2 separate regions of the Homo sapiens genome follow, and region 1 is linked to region 2. The links are contacts of gene promoters, found by promoter capture Hi-C in blood cells and fetal thymus (Javierre and others, 2016). All regions are on one chromosome and are shown on one strand. The core of a region is centred on a gene start or on the middle of the fragment in contact, and the rest is flanking DNA. Distances in the headings are between cores, read along the strand shown. Region 1 has its middle 5.9 kb from the start of ITPRIP. Region 2 holds the start of BNIP3 (BCL2 interacting protein 3).

The links. The method cuts DNA at HindIII sites, captures the fragments that hold promoters and counts their contacts. A CHiCAGO score of 5 or more calls a contact.
Region 1: a contact is called between a fragment that was not itself captured here and the fragment with the promoter of BNIP3 in region 2, in 1 of 17 cell types (activated CD4 T cells). The highest score is 5.6, in activated CD4 T cells.

The regions. Positions count from the first base shown.
Region 1 is chr10:104,341,604-104,347,070 of GRCh38, reverse strand. It overlaps a transcript of CFAP58 not described here. Among named protein-coding and RNA genes, the nearest start is that of ITPRIP, 5.9 kb to the right of the region's middle. RefSeq lists a silencer at 862-921. The HindIII fragment of the contact is 904 bases long and covers 1,001-1,904 here.
Region 2 is chr10:131,978,647-131,984,495 of GRCh38, reverse strand. BNIP3 (BCL2 interacting protein 3) reads left to right here and starts at 2,573. Exons shown (of 6, transcript NM_004052.4): 1 at 2,573-2,735. The coding sequence starts at 2,690. RefSeq lists silencers at 1,903-2,022, 2,063-2,252, 2,303-2,602, 2,833-3,062 and an enhancer at 2,470-3,394. The HindIII fragment of the contact is 3,266 bases long and covers 58-3,323 here.

The sequences.
Region 1 (5,467 bases), core at 203-2,702, about 28 Mb after region 2:
TGACTGGTTAGGCTAGATCATTCAGTTGGTGCTTCTTGCCCAAGACACCAAGGTTGCAGTTTGATGTCCTACTCAGGACTGGTAAGGACGTGCACAAGTCAATCGGTGGACCAGATTGGTTAAAAAGCTTAAGTGGGTCAAGCGCGATGGCTCACTCCTGTAATACCAGCACTTTGGGAGGCTGAGGCAGGGAGATCACTTGAGGTCAGGAGTTTGAGACCAGCGTGGCCAACATGGTGAAATCCTGTCTCTACTACAAATACAAAAATTAGCCAGATGTGGTGGTGGGCCCCTGTAATCCCAGCTACTTGGGAGGCTGAGGCAGGAGAATCACTTGAACCCAGGAGGCGGAGGTTGCAGTGAGCCAAGATCGCACCACTGCACTCCAGCCTGGGCGACAGAGTGAGACTTGGTCTCAAAAAAAAAAAAAAAAAAAAGACTAAATGGCTCCATACAACCTATTCCCACTAATAATAAATAAATAAATGAGTGGGTAAATAAGTAGCCTGAACAATATAACAAGACCTGGTATCTAAACAAAAAAAAATTTTTTTAATGAGCTGGGCGTGGTGTTGCACACCTGTAGTCCTAGTTACTCAGGAGGCTGAGGAGGGAGGATCACTGGAGCCCAGGAGTTTGAGGTTACAGTGAGCTATGATTATGTCACTGCACTCCAGCCTAGGTGACAGAGCAAGACCCTGTCTCAAAAACAAACAAACAAAAGTAAATAAGTGAATGATATGGTGTGGATGCTTTGACCCCTCCAAATCTCATGTTGATACATGACTTCCAATGTTTCTACCTCAGGTGTTCGGGTCATGGGGGGTAGATCCCTCATGAATGGCTTGGTGCAGAGGTAATGAGTGAGTTCTCACTCTAACAGTTCACATGAGATCCGTTTGTTTAAAGGAGTCAGGCACATCCTTTCTCTCACTCTTGCTTCCTCTCTTGCCACGTGACACACCAGCTCACACTTCGCCTTCCACCATGGCTATAAGCTTCCTGAGGCCCTCACCAGAAGCAGTTGCTAGAACCATGTTTCCTGCACAGCCTGCAGAACCATGAGCCAAAACAAACCTCTCTCTTTTATAAATTACCCAGTCTCAGATATTCCTTTATAGCAATACAAGCAGATGAACACAGTGAATATATTTTAAAAATTTTAAAAACCAAAGCACAAAATACCTTTGATGATGGGCCAATGCTTTTATATCTACTATCCCCTGAAAGTCTCTATTTTCAAACACCTCTAGACTTTACAAATGCTGATCCCTTTTCTGGAAAATCCAATGACTCCTTATTTGTCCAGTTAGCTCTTTCAAGTGGCAGCTCAGTGTTGCCTCATCCAAAAAATCTTACCCAGTTAATTACCTCTCCTCTGTGCTGCTGGAAAGACTGAGCATCTTCTGTCAATTCACTGCATTATCATTGTGTGTTCACTTCTATGTCTCCCCACCAGACTGGGAGGACCAGTCTTTTCTTTAATACATCTATGGTGCTGCCCCATAGGAGACACTAGAAGTAAAAAGTTTGATGAATGAATGCAAGATACAATTAACTTATAAACTCACACACACAGCAATTACTCTTGGGAGTGATTAGTGACTAAAGGAAGGTGAAAGGTATCAGTACACGAACATTTAAGATTCTACAGTGGTTAAAATTACTTCCAAGTACACACCAAGATCCCAAACAGAAGTACAGGTAGTAAGGATTACAATAAAATGCACTTATCTCATTTTTTTCTTATCCTCAATGTAAATACCAAAGAACTATGTCTTTTTTTTCTTACCCACAAGGTGGGACACACAATCAGTACTCAAAAAAAGTTGACTACTGAACTCTCATAGGCAACAAGGATAGGCATCTATAAAATGAAATCTGCTATATTAAAGGAATAAGCTTTTTGTTTTTGTTTTTTTTTGAGACAGAGTCTCACTCTGTCGCCCAGGCTGGAGTGCAATGGCACAATCTCGGATCACTGTAACCTCCTCCTTGAGGGTTCAAGGCATTCTCCTGCCTCAGCCTCCCGAGTAGCTGGGCTATAGGCATGTGCCACCATGCCCGGCTAATTTTTGTATTTTTAGTAGAGACAGGGTTTGACTGTGTTAACCAGGTTGGTCTTAAACTCCTGACCTCAGGTGATCCACCCACCTTGGCCTCCCAAAGTGCTGGGATTACAGGCGTGAGCCACCATGCCTCTTTTCTGCCTGTTAGGTATGTTGCTTTCTTGCCAATACCTGCTGCAAGACCTACTGGATGATTTTAGTAGAAGCAAATGCCTGCTGAGCATTTACTGGGAACAGGTGCTTTTTGAGGCAATGCAAGGGAGGCAAAAAGCCTCAAACCTTTTTAAATTAAGCAGGACAATTTAAACCTCTAGGACAGCAGAGACCAGTCTAAGATACCATTGCATTTTAGAATCTAGCACCAAGGTTTGCAAACTTTTTCTATAAAAGACCACATTAAGAAATATTTTCTGGTAGAAAAAAAATAGAAGTATCCTGAGGACAGGTAGGAAAAAAAGAAATATTTTGGGCTTCACGGGCCACATGGTCTCTGTGGCAGCTACTCAACTGTGCTGTTAGAGCCCCAGAGCAGCCATAGACCACACATAAATGAATGGCCATGGCTGAGCCAATATAATTGTATTTATAGAAGCAGGTGGCACTCTGGATTGGGCCTGACAGCCATAGTTTGCCAACTCCTGATTTAGACAATGCCTGGCATAGATTAGGTGCTGAAATATTTGTTGAATGAATGGATGGATGAATGAATAAGTGAATTAAGGTATTCCTAAGGTTACAGCATAATGATCTGTGTCAAAGGCAAGGGTACCATCTTTAGACATTAACTACAAGGAGAGCAATGAATATCTACTGACCAGAAATAAGTTGGATGGCAATCATCTGACTGTTCTTTCCCAAGCCAAGTGGCATATGTAGATGGAAAATTAACATACATAAACCAATAACAGTTTTCAAAACAGAGATGTGAGTTAGAAGAGTAGTTTAAAGAAATATTTTCTAGCCAAGCATAGTGACCCACTCCTGTAATCCCAGCACTTTGGGAGGCCGAGGAAGGAGGATCACTTGAGCCCAGGAGTCTGAGACCAGCCTGGGCAACATACTGAGACCCTATCTCTGCAAAAAATAGGAAAATTAGCCAGGTATGGTGGCACACACTTGTAGTCCCAGCTACTCAGAGGGCTGAGGCAGGAGAATTGATTGACCCTGGGAGGTTGAGGCTGCAGTGAAGCCGACCGTCACTCCCGCCTGAGCAACAAAGTGAGACTCTAGCTCAAATTAAATAAATAAATAAGCATTTTCTTCAAACTTTGGATCTTGACTCATTTAATAAGTTGTGGCCTGCATTTTTTTCAAAAGAGGTTAACATAGGAAGAGTAAAAAGAAAAGGGAACATAACAGTTTGTATCACATTCAGTAAACATAACAATTGTTTTTAAGGAAACTGTCTTTCAATTATAATGCACTTGTATGTGTGAGTATACTGGGTTGTGAAATAAAATGTATTTTCAAAAATCTTTGAAAAACGTAGGTTCTGTAGAATCTAATGATTCCTACCACGTGAGTTGATATGAGGATTAAATGAGTTGGTAGGTATAAAATGCTTGAGTAATACCTAGCAGATGGCACAAGTTTTAGCTATTATTATTCAGTCACTAACCAGCAATGTGACCTTGAGTATGTGACCTAACTTCTCTGGACTTAATTTTTGTCAGTAAATAATCTCTAAAGGCCCTGTGGGCTCCGACATTCCCAGAGGAGGGACGTGACCAGCACTGACCTTGAGGAATGAAATAGCCAAATGCAAATCATTCGTCTTGTTCAACTGACACCTCTGAGGTCTCAGCAAAGCAGCCTGTTCTGTGAAACATCCTCTAAACTAACTTGCTATTATCTTGTGAAATTCCATGTGAAGTTGAAATCAGGGTAGTGGGAAATTGACCAAATCAAGGGAAGTGCCCTTTTTTCCCCTCCATCAGATGCTTAATGACTAGTATAGGCTTCCTGTCTCTCCCATTGTCATGCATTTTATTCCATATACTGGAATAACCACAGATGGGGTGAACAGGAAATCTGTCCCTGTGTATTTAATCTTTAAAAAATTTCCAGTGCTCCTAACCGTGAGATGTGGTGTGAAGCTCCCCTGCAGTTGGTTCAGACTTTGTCACAAGTCACTTTTTTTTTTTTTTTTTTTTTTTTGATACAGGGTCTCACTCCCTCACCCAGGCTGGAATGCAGTGGCACGATCTCGGGTCGCTGCAACCTCCACCTCCCAGGTTCAAGTGATTCTCGTGCCTCAGCCTCCAGAGTAGCTGGAATTACAGGCACGCACCACCACACCTGGCTAATTTTTGTATTTTTTTTTTTTTTTTTTTTTGTATAGACGGGGCTTCGCCATATTGGCCAGGTTGGTCTAAAACTGAACTCATGTGATCTGCCCACCTTGGCCTCCCAAAGTGCTGGGATTACGGACAGGAGCCACAGCACCCAGCTGACAAGTCACCTTTCACTATGGAATGTGAAGCCTCATCTAGCACTTAAATGATCATGAAGAACATTCCATCTACTTTCACACACACATGTATACACATAAACAAGCCAATAGAAAACTGGGGGATGTTGTAACAGAGTCTTCACACATAAACACATAAAGGTGGCCAATAACAATGTTCTGTTCAGCCTCACTCATAATTTAAAAACTGCAAATCAAAACATTGAGATTAGGGGTTTTTTTCACCTATAAAAGAAGCAAACTAAATTAAAGTTATAATAGAAAATAGCCAATGTTGGCAACAATGTAGAGAAAAAGGCAATCATCATACTATGGGAAATAGTTCAAATTGGTGAGATCTCTTTGGAGGGCAATTTTGTAATATATACCAAAATAGTAAATGCACATATCCTTTGATCAGCCCTGAAACTATCAAGGCACTGACCCAAAATAGCCACCTATATACAAGCTTCTGATGTGAGAAAAACAAATCCTTATTTGTTTAAGCCTTTTATAGTCTTAGACACTATAAAAATTACAGTCTGGTATTCCGTTACTTGCAGCCAAACATATTCCTAATTTATAATTTTTAAAAAGAATAGGGGTGAAGGAGGACATTCATATCTTGCACTGACTTTAGAAGATTTCTAGTATTTCCCCATTAAGCATAACACTGGTTTGGGGGCTGAACTTTACCCTTTGTTTTTACCATGTTACAGAGGGTTTGTTTATATGTCGATGCCAAATTTTATCTGATGGCTTTTCAGCATATATGGTGATGATCTTTCCATTTTTCTCTTTTGATCTATTAATGATGTAATATTCTTTGGTGTGCTGCTGGAATTCTATTTGTTAATATATTATTTTAAATTTCTGAAATAATTTATATATTTATAAACAATAATATATTACTTTTCTTTCCCCTTTTCAATGAGCTATTTTTATTAGA
Region 2 (5,849 bases), core at 1,324-3,823:
GATCAAACAACTTTTTTTTCAACTGGCACTAATGACACGGATGGCTTAGGGCAAGCTTTGTCAGACCACTTATGGTCAGAGTCTTCCACCGACATTAGTAAAATATATTCAGCCACTTTCATTAAAGTGGAAGTAAACCTGATTAATCCTTTACCCAATATCAGACAATATCCTCTAAGGCCTGAAGCAAATGAAGGAATAAGATCCGTAACAAAAGACTATATTAAAAGGGGTCTAATTATTCCTTGCGCCAGCATGTAATACTCCAATCCTTCTTGTAAGGAAGCCGAATGGGAAGAGCTGGTATTCTGTACAAGATTTGAGAACCGTCATCAACACTGTGATCCCCAGACATCTGGTAGTACCAAAGCCCCATCCTCTTTCGGCAGCTGGAAGTGAGACACTGTGACTCATTTATGTAGTGCCTTCTTTAGTATTCCAGTGGACCTAGAGTCAGTATTTGTTTGCTTTTACTTGGGATGACTGCGAGCATATCTGGCCTATCAGGAAATATTGCTGATGAAACTGCTGCCTCCATCACAGCCCAACAAAAAGCTACTGACTCACTGGCTAAGGCTGCACTGGACGACTGCATTGCTTTCGATTATTAGCTGAGCAAGCAAGTCTATGTATGGTGGCAAATACCTCTTGATGTGCATAAACCCTTTCCACGAAGTAGAAACTCATATGGGAAAAAGTACAAGCCACTAGGCTACACTATTCTGAACAATTCTCCATTTGATTTTCTTCGTAATACTTTTAGTTGACTCCCTCGAATAGGTTCCGTTTTTCATTCTGGCATACACATTCTCTTTTTCATTGTAATCCTTATGTGCACCGTACTTGGTAACATTTTTGTTTTAATAGAGATGGAGTCTTTCTGTGTTGCCAGGTTGGTCTTGAACTATCAGGCTCAAGTGACCCTCCTGCCTTGGGCTCCCCAAATGCTGGGATTACACACAAGAACCACTGCCTGGCCAGCACTACAGTTCTACTATCGAAATTATTAATGCTATGCTATGTATCTCTGGCGGTTTTTTTTTTTTTTTTTTTGAGACAGGGTCTCACACTGTTGCCCAGGCTGGAGGGTAGTGGCCTGATCATGGCTCACTGTAGCCCCTACCTCCTGGGCTCAAGGAATCCTCCCACAGCAGGTGCCACCATACCCAGCTAAGTTTTTTGTATTTTTTTAGGGGAGAGAAAGCGTTTCGCCATATTGCCCAGACTGGTCTCCAACTCCTGGGCTCCAGCGATCCTCCTGCCTCGGCCTCCCAAAGTGCTGAGATGAAAGACATGCGCCCCACACTGGCCTCTGGATGTTTGTTACTCCTGAGAAAACTAAAATCATGGCACTCCAAAGACTAGAGACGATTCAACAGGCAAGAGCAGGGATGAAATGCACGCAGCGACTGAGGTCTGGCTTCGCGGCTCTGTGACCCCGGTTCAGCTTCTGAGCGCCTGGTTCCTTGGCGGGACGCCTCCTCCTTTCCCGCAAGACCAGACACGACTGTCTGGGAAGCAGCGTTTCTGGGGCGCACCTTGACACTTGGATTTGGATCAACAATGCTTTCAAGAAGAAAGACTTTTGATCAAAAGCGGGAAATGAGAAAGCGACTTTCCTCTGAAAAGTGCCTCCCAGTCCCGAGGCTGCGAGGCCCCCACGCCAGGCTGGCTCCCACGGAAGCCGGGCACCCACCCGGCCCGACCAAGCGCCACTCCGCCCCGTGGACGGGGCGTCCCACCCCGGGGACGCCCGCCCCACACCGCGTTTGCACCCCGGAGGCCCCTTGCCGCAGAGGCGGACGGCGCGCCTCTCCCGGGCCCCTGGGGTCCGCGCCTCCCTCGGGCAGACTCTTTCGACTCTGCTCGAGCCTCCGCTTCTTCCTGCGGGCGGACGCCCCGGACACAACGGGCCCCGCTGTTCACGCAGGGGCGCCCCGGCGGGGCGGGCAAAGACCCGGGGACGCGGTCCCGTCCCGAGACGCTCAGCTCCGGCCCACCGCTCGCAGCTCCCGCCCCGGGCGCAGGTCCCGACCCCACGGGCCGTCTCGGAGCCGCAGCGGCCGCTTCCCTGCACGTCCTCACGCCCCCCGCACGGACGCCGCCAGCCCCGCGCCTCAGTTTCCCCACTAGCAGGATGGAAAGACGGGCCCCGCCCCGAAGCGTAGCGGCGTCTCCGTGGTAGCCAGTGCCCAGAGAGTCCGCCGGTCCCACCGCCCCTTCAAAGGAGAACCCGGCCCACCGCCCGCCGCGGCGGCGACCGCGCAGCCCACTCGTCACGCGGCCCGCGGCGTCCAGCCCGGGCCGGCTCACCTCAGGCGGTCGCTGCCGCCCTCGCGCCTGCGCGCCCCTCGCCCCGCCCCTCTCCCCGCCCGCGTCCCGCGCACCGCAGGCCTCTGCCCCTCGCCCACCGCAGGACCCGCCCCGCGCACGCGCCGCACGTGCCACACGCACCCCACGCCCCTGCGCACGCGCAGGCCCCAAGTCGCGGCCAATGGGCGACGCGGCCGCAGATCCGCCCGGCCCCGCCCTGCCCTGTGAGTTCCTCCGGCCGGGCTGCGGGGCTCCGCTCAGTCCGGGAGCGCAGCTGGGCCGCGGCGCTCCGACCTCCGCTTTCCCACCGCCCGCAGCTGAAGCACATCCCGCAGCCCGGCGCGGACTCCGATCGCCGCAGTTGCCCTCTGGCGCCATGTCGCAGAACGGAGCGCCCGGGATGCAGGAGGAGAGCCTGCAGGGTGAGGCGGAGGAGGCGGCGCGGGAGCCGAGGGGGCGCGGGGGGGAAGCCTGGGGAAGGCCAAGAGGGCGCCAAGGGGAGGTTGCCGGGGAGGCCTAGGGGGCATCGCGGGCCGGGCGAGGCTGCGCCATCCTCCCCTTCCGTACCCACCCCTCCTGCGGGCATGCGGAGCCCGGGGCGTGGGGACCCCGCGTACTGCCCGGGGTTCGCGGCCTCGCCACTCGGGCGGGGGTTGGCTTGGACCCGGGTCGGACCGCACGGGAAAGCCCCGATTCTCCAGCTCCGCGCGAGCTAGAATTCCACCTGGAGGTGAATCTGCGTCTCGCAGTTGGACCGAACAGCCTCAAAGTCCACGTTGCCCTCCGCGGTCTGTAGTTCAGACCAGTATTGGTTTTAATGACCAAACACCAAGGCGTGGCAAGTGGCCTGTTATGAGCTTTAATTTTGTTATTAATGTTTATATCCATGGTGACTGTTAGGATTTCCTCAAGGGTGAACGCGGAGATGGGAGGGGGTTACAGCGTTTTTAAAATATGGCATTAAATGGGCATGTTCCAATTTCACTAGAGGGTCGTTCCAAAACAAAGCTTTAAATGACTTACGGGTTAAGAAAACACAAGCAAAAGGACGCTGCCCGTGCAGCACTCAGTCGTTACAGCCTGCCTAATGCCCGAGTAGAGGCTCGCTGTGTGCCCTTGGCTAGATTCGCAAGACCATCCGTTCACGCAGCGGGAAACGCAGGCCCGGGGTGCAGGACTTGCCCCACGCACAGCCGGGTGGCGTGGAGACCCACCCCACCCGGTGGGTCCGCGTCAGAGTCCAGACGAGCCTTTGCTCAGGGAAGCGGGCACTGAAGCCGCCTTCCCAGGGTCCCTAGGGCCAAAGCCTCGGAGGAGGGACCTGGTGGCAGCTGACCTTTGTGTTCTTTGAAGCCAGAGTTTACTAAGCAAAATTAGCATGTAAATAAGCTTGGGAAAGGACTGCTGAAACCTCTGACAGTGAACTTTTAATCTTCATTGAGAGTTTTTAAAACCATATATTCACATAAATTTAGTGAGTTGCTAATTTTATTACAAAAAAAAAGATTTTACTAGGCAGGACTTAGTTACCGTAATATATTGAATAATATATATATATACATATGAACACTACAAGCTTTTTTTTTTTACCTTTTTTTTTTTTTAAGAGACGGGGTCTCACTGTGTTGCCCAGGCTGGTCTGAACTGGGCTCAAGCGATCCTCCCGCCTCGGCCTCCCAAAGTGCTGGGATTATAGGCCTGAGCCACCAGGCGCGCCTGGCCTAAAACCATATTCTTTAAAATCCTGTAATTCGGATTTTTCCTCTTGAAATTTAAACATTGGCTAATTACTATTTTGAAATAGATTAAGAGGTGTTTTCCTATCTTTTGTCATAAAATAAAGTCCAAGGGATGTTTTTATAAACTCTTTGCCATAAAATCACCCATTTTCCGGTTGTGAAGCCGCGTTACTCCTGACATTGTGCGTTTCACTGTCCGGCTGGGATCTGGGCGCTGGGAGGTGGAGGGGGCTCCGGGGGGCTCGGTCCTCTCTCCAATATGTAACTTACACAGGCTGCTGAGTCATTGGCAGTGCAAGGCGGCCAGCGCCGGAGTTACGAGATTTTTGTTTTTCTGTTTTGTTTATTCTATAAAAAGATAGTTACCCGCGGGGTGGATCCCATGTAGGCGATTCCTTGGGCCGCCCTGAGTGTCCGCGCGGCAGGACGGGGCCACTGTGGGCTCGGCGTGGGCGGGGTTGGCCGGTCCCGCGGGCTCCAGCTGCCTGCAAATCCGGGACGGAGCGGTGGCTCAGGCAGCGCTCACCTCTGCCTGTCCGATTTCACTGCCCCTTGTTGACCTCGGAACAGAGAACAATGGGAGCCTTGCAGCCAGACCCACGGATGGAAGCAGCAAGCACTCTCTCCTCTGAGTGTACCCTCTGGGGCCAACTGCTTTTCCTAAAGAGTTAATGGCAAAATGGGCTGATTCTGTTCCTTTCTATCTCTTGATCATTCTAGCTAAAGTTGTTGACTCGCAGGATGCTCGTATTTGTCCTTTTCCTTTTTTTTACAAGCCCAGTCTTACTCCCCCAGGCTGGAGTGCAGTAGCACAATCATTATAGCTCACTGTAGCCATGAACTTGGCCCTTTTCTCCTAGACATGTCACTGCTAACATGCAGGAGAGGTAGGATTCTGTGACGAGACCGTGTCACGGTGGCGGGGGCATCACTTCCTTGAAGGACCCACTGTCTTCACCAGGAGGGCATCAGTTCAGTAAAGTGCATGCCCATTTACTCTGGAGGGCCGTGTTTAATAATCCAAGCCCTCACCTCTTCACCCACTGCTGTGTCTGCAACTGGCAGATGGTTCTCTCTCTTGTCAGAGGCAACTCACCATGGGCAAAGTTGTATGAGGGGAAAAGATGTTTTCTACTTATTTTGGAGTGGAGTTGTAGCATTGTGTGCTTTGAGACCTGAAGGGGTTGCAGACATCGAGATTCTCGTCCAAGACTTGCATTTCATAGATGGTCACAATGAGGTTCTAGAGGTGGAGTGAAAGATAAGGCTGGCAACAACACTTAAGGAGAAGCCAAGGTCTCTGCATGAGGCAGCAGTGGGATACCTGGAGCCCAGATGCCTGAGGCTGCGTGCAATAGGCCCTGGAGGGTCCTGGAGGAGAGGAGGCCAGAGGTCCTGGAGGCAACAGGAAGGTGGAGGGAAACGAGCCCCGTTGGAAGCCAGGGACCTGATTTACCTACCCAGCTGACTTGATACTTGAAATCTTTTGTCAGGCGGGTCTCTTTTGTTCTCTCCCCACTAACCTGAGAAGCTTTAAAGGTAAAACAGCAATTTCTTAGAGCCCACCTCCCCTGGGGAAGAAGCCCTTTGTATGGTTTTGGGGTGCTAGTTCCCTCGGGGGTTCACAGCTCCTCTGCTTCAGGTTTTTTTTCTGGGATGCTGCCTCCCTCTGTTCTGACATTTATCCCAGAGCTTTTTCAATCTATTTGCCTGGATTCCACCCCAGCATCCCAAATAGTCACTTTCAGAGTGGGCTGAGGCTAGGCTTTTGGAGAACAATGAAAAAACACCACAGGT